2 separate regions of the Homo sapiens genome follow, and region 1 is linked to region 2. Evidence: promoter capture Hi-C in human tissues and cell types (Jung and others, 2019). All regions are on one chromosome and are shown on one strand. The core of a region is centred on a gene start or on the middle of the fragment in contact, and the rest is flanking DNA. Distances in the headings are between cores, read along the strand shown. Region 1 has its middle 160 kb from the start of TMX3. Region 2 holds the start of DSEL (dermatan sulfate epimerase like).

Evidence for each region. The method cuts DNA at HindIII sites, captures the fragments that hold promoters and counts their contacts. A contact is called where the count stands out against the background at its distance.
Region 1: a fragment that was not itself captured here is called in contact with the fragment with the promoter of DSEL in region 2 in 1 of the 25 tissues and cell types used here (bladder).

What each region holds. Positions count from the first base shown.
Region 1 is chr18:68,557,193-68,562,464 of GRCh38, reverse strand. No RefSeq gene overlaps it. Among named protein-coding and RNA genes, the nearest start is that of TMX3, 160 kb to the left of the region's middle. The HindIII fragment of the contact is 3,483 bases long and covers 1,837-5,272 here.
Region 2 is chr18:67,514,887-67,519,754 of GRCh38, reverse strand. It overlaps DSEL (dermatan sulfate epimerase like), which reads left to right and starts at 3,035. Exons shown (of 2, transcript NM_032160.3): 1 at 3,035-3,394; 2 at 4,263-4,868. It overlaps DSEL-AS1 (DSEL antisense RNA 1), which reads right to left and starts at 3,209. Exons shown (of 5, transcript NR_033921.1): 1 at 3,006-3,209. The HindIII fragment of the contact is 11,831 bases long and covers 531-4,868 here.

The DNA of each region.
Region 1 (5,272 bases), core at 2,329-4,828, 1.0 Mb before region 2:
GAAAATGCTAATGGAACTTTCTTTGAGTTTGCCAAGTGATTCTTTCCTCCTCTGGGATCTCATATTCAAAACGAATATCCTGATGCAAATAACAGCAGGGGAAGGTTCAAGAATAAAGAAAAGCAACAAAGTTTTATCAGTTGCTGCCAACACTATAAGCCCAAATCAGCTTTACAGCAAAGCTAGCACTGATTTCCCAAAGTACAATGAATCATGGAGAAGATAGCATTGACTGTCTGCCAAGCACTAAGCACGATTCTGTGTATTCTACAGGTACTCATTCATTTAATCTTCAAAACAAACTTGTTTCTAAAAACACGATCATTGTCAACATTACATTAGGAAAGGAAGGCCGAAGAGAGGCTTAGCAACTTGTCAAAGGTGATGTCTCTAACAAGGAGCCTGACAAGGTTCAACTCCTGTCCGAGTGTCGATAATTAATTTATACAGCTCTTGCAAATGCATAAGCAATCTTTTATTCTCACAGGCCTCGTGTTGCAAGCCCATTGTCTATAAGCTGCTGCTTTACTCTACACTGTGTTTATTACACCCTAGGCTGATGGAACCTCCTCTGTGTAGGACATTGTCAGTCTTGTGTCAGATGGAAAAGGACTTCACAACTGTAAGCTGGCTCCTAAAGCATCTGCTCAGAAGTGACACAGATAAGTTTTGTCTACATTTTGTTGGCCAAAGCAAGTCACATGGATTCAACAGTTTGATCATATATAATTCTCCCTCAGGGTAGGGCCCACAAGCCATATAGCCAAGCTTGATATCAGGAGAAACACTCCTTGATATAATTTTTAAGTCACATACAATTTTAAGTGACATACCAAGCCCAATATCAATGCGGTAGAGAAGTAGGCTCCTCTTTCAGGGATGAAAAGTGTATATTTTAAATAGGAATATAATCTATCATTCTTGTGATACTCATAGGGATGAAGCAATATCTCATTGGGTATATTTTTACCTGTTTAAGCACTATTGGAATTTTGTCTTCTGTGAATCAGCCAGTAATATCATTTGCCCATTTCTCTATTGGTTTGCTTTCTTTCCTTATTGAAGATCAAAATTTTTTTGCTATTTTATGCATAACAAAAAGGGCTATTTTTTTTTTTTTTTTGAGATGGAGTCTCGCTCTGTCACCCACTCTGGAGTGCAGTGGCTCTATCTTGGTTCACTGCAAGCTCCGCCCTCCAGGTTCATGCCATTCTCCTGCCTCAGCCTCCTGAGTAGCTGGAACTACAGGTGCCTGCCACCACGCCTGGCTAATTTTTTGTATTTTTTGGTGGAGACAGGATTTCACCGTGTTAGCCAGGATGGTCTCAATCTCCTGACCTCGTGATCTGCCTGCCTCAGCCTCCCAAAAGGGCTATATTTTTTAAATGAAGATAATAATAAATTATAGGGCTACAGTAAGACATAGCTTAATAAATATTTTATAAACTTGATCATGCCTGAAATATAATAAATTCTCAATAAATATGAGCTATTATTTTTAAATATTGTCTGTATCATGAGTCAGCAAACTATAGTCTCTAGGCTAAATCTGTCCCTCTGCCTGATTTTGTAAATAAAGTTTTATTGAAACTCAGCTACACTAATTTATTTAGGTATTGTCTATGGCTGCTTGTGCTACAAAGGCCGAGTTGAATGTTTGGGACAGAGACTGAATGTCCCACAAAACCTAAAGTATTTACTATCTATCTCTTTACAGAAAAAGTTTGCCAATCTCTGATCTAGCTCAATGAATTAAATGGAGATAAAATGGCACCACCACTCCAGTAACCTTTAGGTCCAAACGCTGGTTCTAATCTTTACCCTAGACTCTACAATGCAACATTAATGTTTGATCTGCTATCTTGACTGCAGGGGTAAAGGTGATTTCAGAGGCTTTCAACTGGTCTTTCCTCCTGTGAGAATTCTTAGCCCACCAAACCAAGGACCCTGAAGGTTCTGCCAACTACTAATTATTTTCAATCCACTAGTAGAGTCCATGGCCCCAGAGGACCCAATGTGAGTTGGTCCTGGGCCAGAATTCTATAACGTGGCCCTCATATAACCTGCACTCTTTCAGAGAGGGATGTGATGATGCTTTGTGTTTCTAGTTATCAATGTATGAGTATTGTATGAGTAATGTATAAGTATTCCCCTTGTTCAGAATACATAGTTGCTGAGTAAATAGCCATAGGTCTTTTGGGGATGAGCTTGGGGAATTATTGCCTTATTCATTTACCGTGGTGTTTCAGGGTCCAACCTGCTTGCAATCCAGCTTCTCTTTCCAAGAAATGGGCTCCATGAAAACTGTCTTATGTCCTAAAACTAGCCAAAAGTTTGTGATCTTTCTTGGGGATGACTGCTCTCAACTCCTAATCACCCATTCTTGAATTAGTTTGATTGTATAGATAGAACAGTATTCTTATCTGATGCCCATACATCTTGCTCCTGGGAAAGTCATCTTCTGTTAACTATTCACATAACTCCCATGCTCAGGTACCATTTTGGCTGCTCATTATGATAACTGCCCCCATGAAGGTCCTCTGCCTTGCCTTTCTTATTCGAGGTTTCTATTATTCCCATTGCTATCAGGGAGCACATTTCTGTAAGAGCCTCTCCTGCCATCATCCCAGGTCTATAGAAGATAGCTATCACTTGATAATGATACTGGTAAGATAGACATTCCTTATTGTTCTGATAAACTGAGATCAGCCTTCCTTATTTCTTTGATATGTAGAGTTTCAGGCAGGTCCTCCTGAGAAGCAGAGTAGGCAGGGGTACTGGATCTCAGATATAGAACCAATTTAGCAAATCCTCTTTTATAAATCATTTGCAGTCATCCTGTAGAGTATGCCATTGTTGTTCTATTTTAACTACAGTTGATATGAAGCATCACTTTTTCTAAGCTTCAAAGTTACCCAGTGGTAATATTAGAATGGCCTCCTGGGACTCCTACTAGGGGATTAAATCCTATCTTCTGGGAGTGTTCCCAGATTGAGAATTCTCATATCCATCTCTATGCTCTTCTTCTATTGATCCACCACCATCGGATTCATTCCAGCTGCACACAGTTCCTGGGGTTCATGTTAGCCTTGTCCTGTGGCTCCTTTGGCCTGTGGCCCCAACTACTCCTCAGGACACCCAGCAGTTCTCTTGTCAGTTATTGATCTGGTGGCCGGAAGAGAAGGGCTGACCTGGAGATGGGGTTGTTGGGGAAATATAATTAAAACACAATTTCCTTTGAACGTAGAAAACCTCTCCATAGAAGTAGAAAAGAAAGAAAACAGTTTCATTATTGAATAATCATTAAACCATAATGTGATGCGCATTACAGGAAATCTGCTAAGAGATTGCAAAACCAGAAAGACATCTCACCCTTTGATATAGCAGGCAAACACAACACATTACGCTCAAGTTTTCAAGATATATAATAATTAGCCCTCAAGTAAAAGGACTTGGCACTACCATTTGTCACATGTCGTTCATCCTAAGCTTATCTGGTAATTAGGGTGGCCATCTGTGTTTGCTAATTGACTTTGTCCAAAGGAAACATAAATGTCTCACATCTTTCTGACTAGAGGTATTGTAGTTTTGCAACTTGGAGCAAGGTGCCATGAAGTTAGGTTTCCTACCTTCTTTAGAAACTGGGTGCTAGGGCTGCTGTCTTCCCTCATGGTCACATTTCAAAGGGTTGATTCCCAGGTTCTTAAAAAAGACATTCCTGGGTTATAAAGTGGGCAAGAGGCTTATTTAGCTTTTTAAAAGATTTACATATATTTCAAAGAGAAAACTTAACACATGTTCTAAAGTCAAAGCTCTAAAAAAAGGGGGTGGGGGAGTCTTTTCCCTTATTTTAACAGCCAGAATTAAGCCTCTTATTTTTAATATGTGTTTGCCCTTAAGGGTCATATATTTACCGGCAAGAAAGTCATTTTCTTCAAGAAATAGGGGTAGGAGGGGTGGCATTCTCCTTAAATCCAAAGCAGTTGGCTAATTCTGCAGGCCTAGAGGCTCATAGAAATCGGCGAATTCACATTTTCAGGTGCATTAACTCGTGCTGCAGCTCTTATTTCATGCTGCCACTTCTAATCACTCAGTGTTCTGACTTTCATCTGGAAGACCTTCCGAGCTGAGAATCCAACATTTTCTCCACTTCTGCTGCTCTTGTGATTAAGTCCTGGGCCTGAGCCTTTTCTGTTCTCAAATGTTGCTAACAAAACCCCTGGACTTACACCTTGAGCCTCAGACTTTCATTGTCTTTTCCCACAGGTTACTTTCAGCTACAGTCATCCAAGTCCATTCTCCTTACAATTACTGTTCCTCATCCTTGACATGAAATTCATGTGTGTGTGTGTATTACATATATATGAAGTGGGTTTTTTCTGGTTGTCATATGTTTGTTTTAGTGATGGGGTCCCCTATGTTGCCCAGGCTGGAGTACAGTGGCTATTCACAGGTATGATCATGGCACACTACAGCTTCAAACTCCTGGGCTCAAGACCCTCCTGCCTCAGCCGCTTGAGTAGCTGGAAGTACAGATGCATTCCACTGTGCCCAGTTATATATATATATAATTTTATGTCACGAGTCTTTTTTGTATCATTTTGAAGCGCCGTGATGAAATTAGACAATAGTATTGATACAGAACAGCTGGGCTCCTGGCTAAACATCCACCCTTAAGCCTGGAACCTGGTTCTAAGTGAAAACAGCTGACCCCATTTTTCCACCCATATGTTGCTTTTTTGACCTGCCATGCCTCTATCTTGTGCCCATTCACACTACCTAAAAGACTTTAGCTAGCAGAGGGATACAAGCTGCTAAGCAGTAGGCAGAGAAGCAGCAACTTAGCATCAGAGACTACAGATAGATGCGGCTAACTTCAGACAGTATGTCTTCAGGGATAGATCACCTTCTTCCTACACCATCCCCTTTCCAATTCCCCACCCCTCTGATAGCCACTTTTATCACCCATTAAAATCCTCTGCATACACTACCCTTCAATCCATTTGTGCGACCTGATTCTTCCTGGAGGCCAGACAAGAACCTGAGTGCCAAGAGGGCAGGAGCTTGGACACTGCTGCAGAGCCTGCATAGAGCCTGCTCCTGCCAGAAAGGAGTGACTGGCCGGTTTCAGTGTTCCTTCCCTCTGGTTCCTGCACTCGCTTACATGCTCCCTCTCACGAGGAGAGTGGCCAGCGGTGGGCTGAGTGAAGTTAGCCACTCCAGTTCCCCTCTCAATATGGTTTATATTTACAAAACTGTTTTAGCAGCAAGA
Region 2 (4,868 bases), core at 1,786-4,285:
GAAAGAGTGTGTGACTCTGCTTAGAATGTAGTAACCCACTTTAGACCTTTATGACTTTTTCTCTTCTGTCATAAAATGGGGGCGATAATTCATGTTAAACATTCACCAAACATTTTTCAAAAAGTGCCAGGCTCTGGGATAGATGTTGAGAAATAAAATTTTAAAAGAAAAATAAAAGAGAGAGAGAGGAAGGAAGAAAGGAAGGAAAGGAGCGCGAGAAAGGCTTCTGTTCTGGAGAATCTACTCTAGAAAGCATTGTTTCTGTTGTAAGATAGGTGGTTGTGGGTAGGTTGAAAGATAGGCAAATAAAGAAAACAGATTTTCATAAGTACTTTGAAATCACGGAGTAAAATCTCATGTAGATTTAAGATCCTTTTATATAGAGAGAAATCCCCAGAGCAATAGACTGCACTGTTCTTCACTTACATTAAAATAAGATACTGCTCCAGGATTCTGAATTTAGCAGCTGTTGGTACATGTGTCTCTTGCCACACTCATAAAGGTTTTTAATGTACAATAACATAGCATATAGCTCATCCCTTCTATGGTCGGATGCATTATTTATAATTAACTAACTTTGTACCATCTTCATGTGTGGAAGGAGCAATAATTGGAGCTATCCATTTTTAGTTCACAGAAAACAAGACTCTCTTCATTTTTGACAGTGCCATTTACCTACCACCCTTTCTGCCAATGATTTGAATTGTTCAGTTGTGGCTCTTGTTTTATTTTAATGCATTCACATTTTACCACTATGCAAAGATGTCTGTTCAAAATGAATTAGTCTGAAAGCCCATCTGAGAATGCTGGGAGGCTAGCTGCATCCCCACTGCTTCAGCACAGATGCATGGGGCAGAGCTGAAAGGCCACAATGTCGGTACCTGAATTCATTCTTCTCTAAAGTGAAAATGATCATACTGATATTTCAAAATCTGAAAACAACATTGGAAGAATATTTGCCTGGCAGATGTTCGCGCATTAATTCTCTCTGACTCACCTTGCCCTCGCATCATGAGACACTTTGAATCCATAGAAATAACCCTGCCCCACACTTTGTTCTGAGAAATGTTCTGTACATCTAGTAGCTGTGTTTACTAACCCTAAATTCTAGGCTCCCCTCTGCAAACAGATAGGAATCTCTGGAGTCAGCTCCCCGTTTCCCCCAACTCTACTCTCTCATAAATGTGGTTGGAGGCCATGGGTCCTCTTCCTCTATCAGGGGCCATGTAGAGGCACAATCCAGATTTTACAGGAAGTTGTGTCAGAAGAGGATCCTTGTTTGGGAATAAACCTCAGTGGAGGAGACGAGGCTCTGTATCAGCCCAATTGTTCGAGGTTCAACTCATTTCAAAAGCAGATATAGTACTTACAAAGGGGACTTGAGTGCTACTCATGACTTGAAGGAGTTTTGAATAGGGTACAGGAGTCAACCAGTTGAAATAGAAAGCAGAAAATAAACAACCTAAACGGCCGAATATAGGTACAAATGATATAGTTCTGGAGTAATACATTCTGGCTAGGGAAACTTAGGAGTTATTTACAGAAGAATGTAAGCATCTGAGTTGAGACCTGGATGATCAGATAATTTCAACAGTCAGAAGAATTTTAACTAGTAAGTGGGGTGGTTGGGTAAAGGACACTGTGAGGGAAAGAATGGAATAAGCATAGTTACTGAAGCACCCAAGCAAAAGCAAGTGTGGCTATTTGGACTGGGCTAGGGGTTACTACGGGGCCAAAACAGAAGAGTGATGAGGAGTTAGAGGCCACATTTCACCTCAAAGTTAAATGATTTGAAATTTATTCTGCTAGCAGTCGTCTACTGTTTGATTTTCAGCAGCAAATGATCTAAGCAAGACATTTATTTTTAAAATGTTAAAATATATCTTATTAAATATTACCAAAATAGTATGGGAAATGAAGAGACTGAATGTGTTACTAATCCCCAACTGAGAATGGAATTGTTCATTTGTGAAGCTTGATATTTCCCTGTATTTTTATTACTACTAAGCTATTATTTTTTACATTTGAGGTCAGAGCTTGGGTTGGTTTATGCCAAAGTGTCATCTCAGCTATCTGTGAGAAGCTCCATGTGTGGAGTGCAACAGGAGTCCCAGCCTGCTCTAGGATTTCCACGACCTGGCACTGCACTCACATGTCGTAGTAGCCGGGGCACACTGCCTTCTCCTGTCTGCATGTAGGTCTTTACCGAATACCAGGTCCCATTTTTAAATAAGAGGCTCCTTCTACTTGTTTGTCCCATGCTTCCCCTATTTATACTGCCTGAGAAATTGTTTTCCATCAGTAAAGCTGATTAGTCTTTTCTGTTTTCCCTTGATCTTTGTTAGCATCTGGGCTACAGAAGTTGTCCTCCTATATTAATCTGGGTATTTCGGTTTTGCTTTTCCAAAGGACAGCAAGCTCAGCCAGGCTGCCTCTCAGTTCCAAGGGAGTGCTCATTCCCTCCTTCCCCAGCCCTTGCTCTTTCCAAAAGGATGATTTCTGTCGTCCCAGGGCTTATCCCCTCCCACTCCAGCTCCTCCCATCATTTGAGTCAATCCCACAGCCCCCACTATGGCTCTATTATATAGTTGTCGTCTTCCCATAACCAAAAGGTTTTAACGCCAGCCTGGCAGCGTCTTTAGACTCTCGCACTCCCAAACTGTCCCCTCCTCCAGCTCGACTCCTCCGGGAGCGCGCGGCCACCGCTGCAAGCCCAGAACACAAACGCCTAGAGCTTCCTCCGCTTAGAAACCCGGGGCGCTTGGCCCCGCCTCACCTGCTTTCGGCCCCGCCCCGCCCGCCGCCGGCCTGCTCACGGCTCCTCCCGTCCTCCCCGAAGCCCCGCCTCTGACCCCGCCCTGTCCTGTCTCCGTCCCGCCCCACGCCCGCCAGCCAGCGTCGCTGTCTCTCGCCTTCCCTGAGGCCCCGCCTTCAGCCCCGCCTTCAACCCCGCCCCGTCCTGCCTCCGCCCCGCCCCCGCTTGCCGGCCCGCGTCGCCGTCTCACCCTCCCCGGGCTGCGCGGCCGGAGCTGGCACAGAGGATCCTCGGCCGCGGCGACATCACCGCCTGGGCACGCGGGCGCTGCTCTGGATACGGCGCCACCGAGAGAACCCGCCGCCCGCGGGTCTCTGTCCTGCGGTCCGTGGTTGCCCCCACAAGCGTCCGGCGTTTCCTGAGGGCGGGCGTGTCCGGGCCGTGCGGGTCGCGGGGACCGAGCGCGGCTGAGGAGACCGAGCTGGGGCAGCGCCTGCCGTAGCGCGGGAGACGACGCGGGGGTCTTGCGGAGCCCCGCGGGAGCCTGGCCCGCCGTGCAGAGCAGTTTTCTGGAACTCTCCACCTCCGTCTCCCTTGGGGCCCAGTGCGGCGCCGAGCCCCCGTCGGGATCTGCCTGAGGTAAGCGGACTTGGTGGCTCAGGGGTCTCTCGCCATCCTGCCTCACTCAGCCCCAGAGCGGGGAGCGGAGAATGGGGGCGGCAGGGTCGGAGGACGCCAGTGAAAAAATGCAACAGGCGGGGCGGATCAGGAAACTCCTAGCCTGAATGTTTCCTACAGAGGGGAGACTTGTCCAAGACTGAAACTTGCTTAGGTTCTTCCAGCCGCGGACGGGCACGGAGAGGCGTCTTTCGACACCGGGGTCCGAGCTCCCTCTGGCGGCTCCACCTGAGGACAGGGACTCGGCCACAGGTGAGCGCCGAGCGCGGAGCTCCCGCCCCTCGGCTTGGCGCCTGGTCACGATTCGCGGTTACCCCGCCGAGAAAAGTGACTGGTCCGAGTAGTTCTCATTAGGAAGATACCTTCTGATCCCATGAACTCTAAACCTTCCCCCGGAATTAAAAAAAAAAAAAAAAAAAAAGATCTTTTCAACTTTCAGTTTTTTGTCCCTCGGTCCTTGGGAACAAGAAATAACAAGGATAGCAGGACTCATCTTTGTGTAAACTGCATTTGAATACAAACATTTTTTAAGTGACTGAAGCCACGTTAGTGGCGTTAAACTATAGATATTGTCGGGAGAGTTCTATCTTGTATATTTTGTATTGTTAGTTGCTTGTCTTCTGCTGACGGTCACTGGTTTCCAAATAAGTGCGTGTAAATGGATAAGAAAAAAATCACTTGCCCTAGCTTAGGTTGCAGATAATATGAGATTTTACTGTGATTCTAAAATTTCTATTAAGTGATTGCAGAATGTTTAAGTCATCAGTTTATATTCATTCTCAGCATACCTGAAGCCTCAGAGAATTTTTATTTTGTCCCCCATCCCCAGAAAAGTGTCATGAAAAAAGAGCAGAAGAGAGACCTCACTGTTGCTGAAAGGGGAATTTTCTTTCCCCGTTGGCGGTTACTTCATGATCGGACGAGAAGTATCTAGGTGACTGAAGATATTCCATTTTTATGTTTGTACACATGAAGCTGATAAAAGAAGATGTGAACATGATTTCTCTTTGTCATAATAGGCTGATGAGTAAGTAAGCCTGAAAAATATTTGAAATGAAGGCAAGAATTTTGAATTTTTAAAAACCAACTAAGACTTTGATCACTTGTTGAGGATGTTTCTCTCTCATAAATGAAAGAAAAACGTATTCACAAGACAAGAAGTATAAAAAGTTGAGAGGAATGACAACTGAGTCCACTCACTCGAAGAATGTCAGTACTTCATCATCTTCTTTGGGCAAACATACACAAATGCATCATACATGTGTGGTGAGCTTATCACCAGTGATGGTTTTCTGTGCTAGAAATGACTCTTAATTTGAATTTTGGAGTGCTTTTTCTCTTTTTTTACAATGTGTGTTCCAACTCTTTGTGTTAAATAGATTTAAGTAAAGGAGGTAAATGCTAAATTCATAGTGTTTTTTACCTGTATCACTTC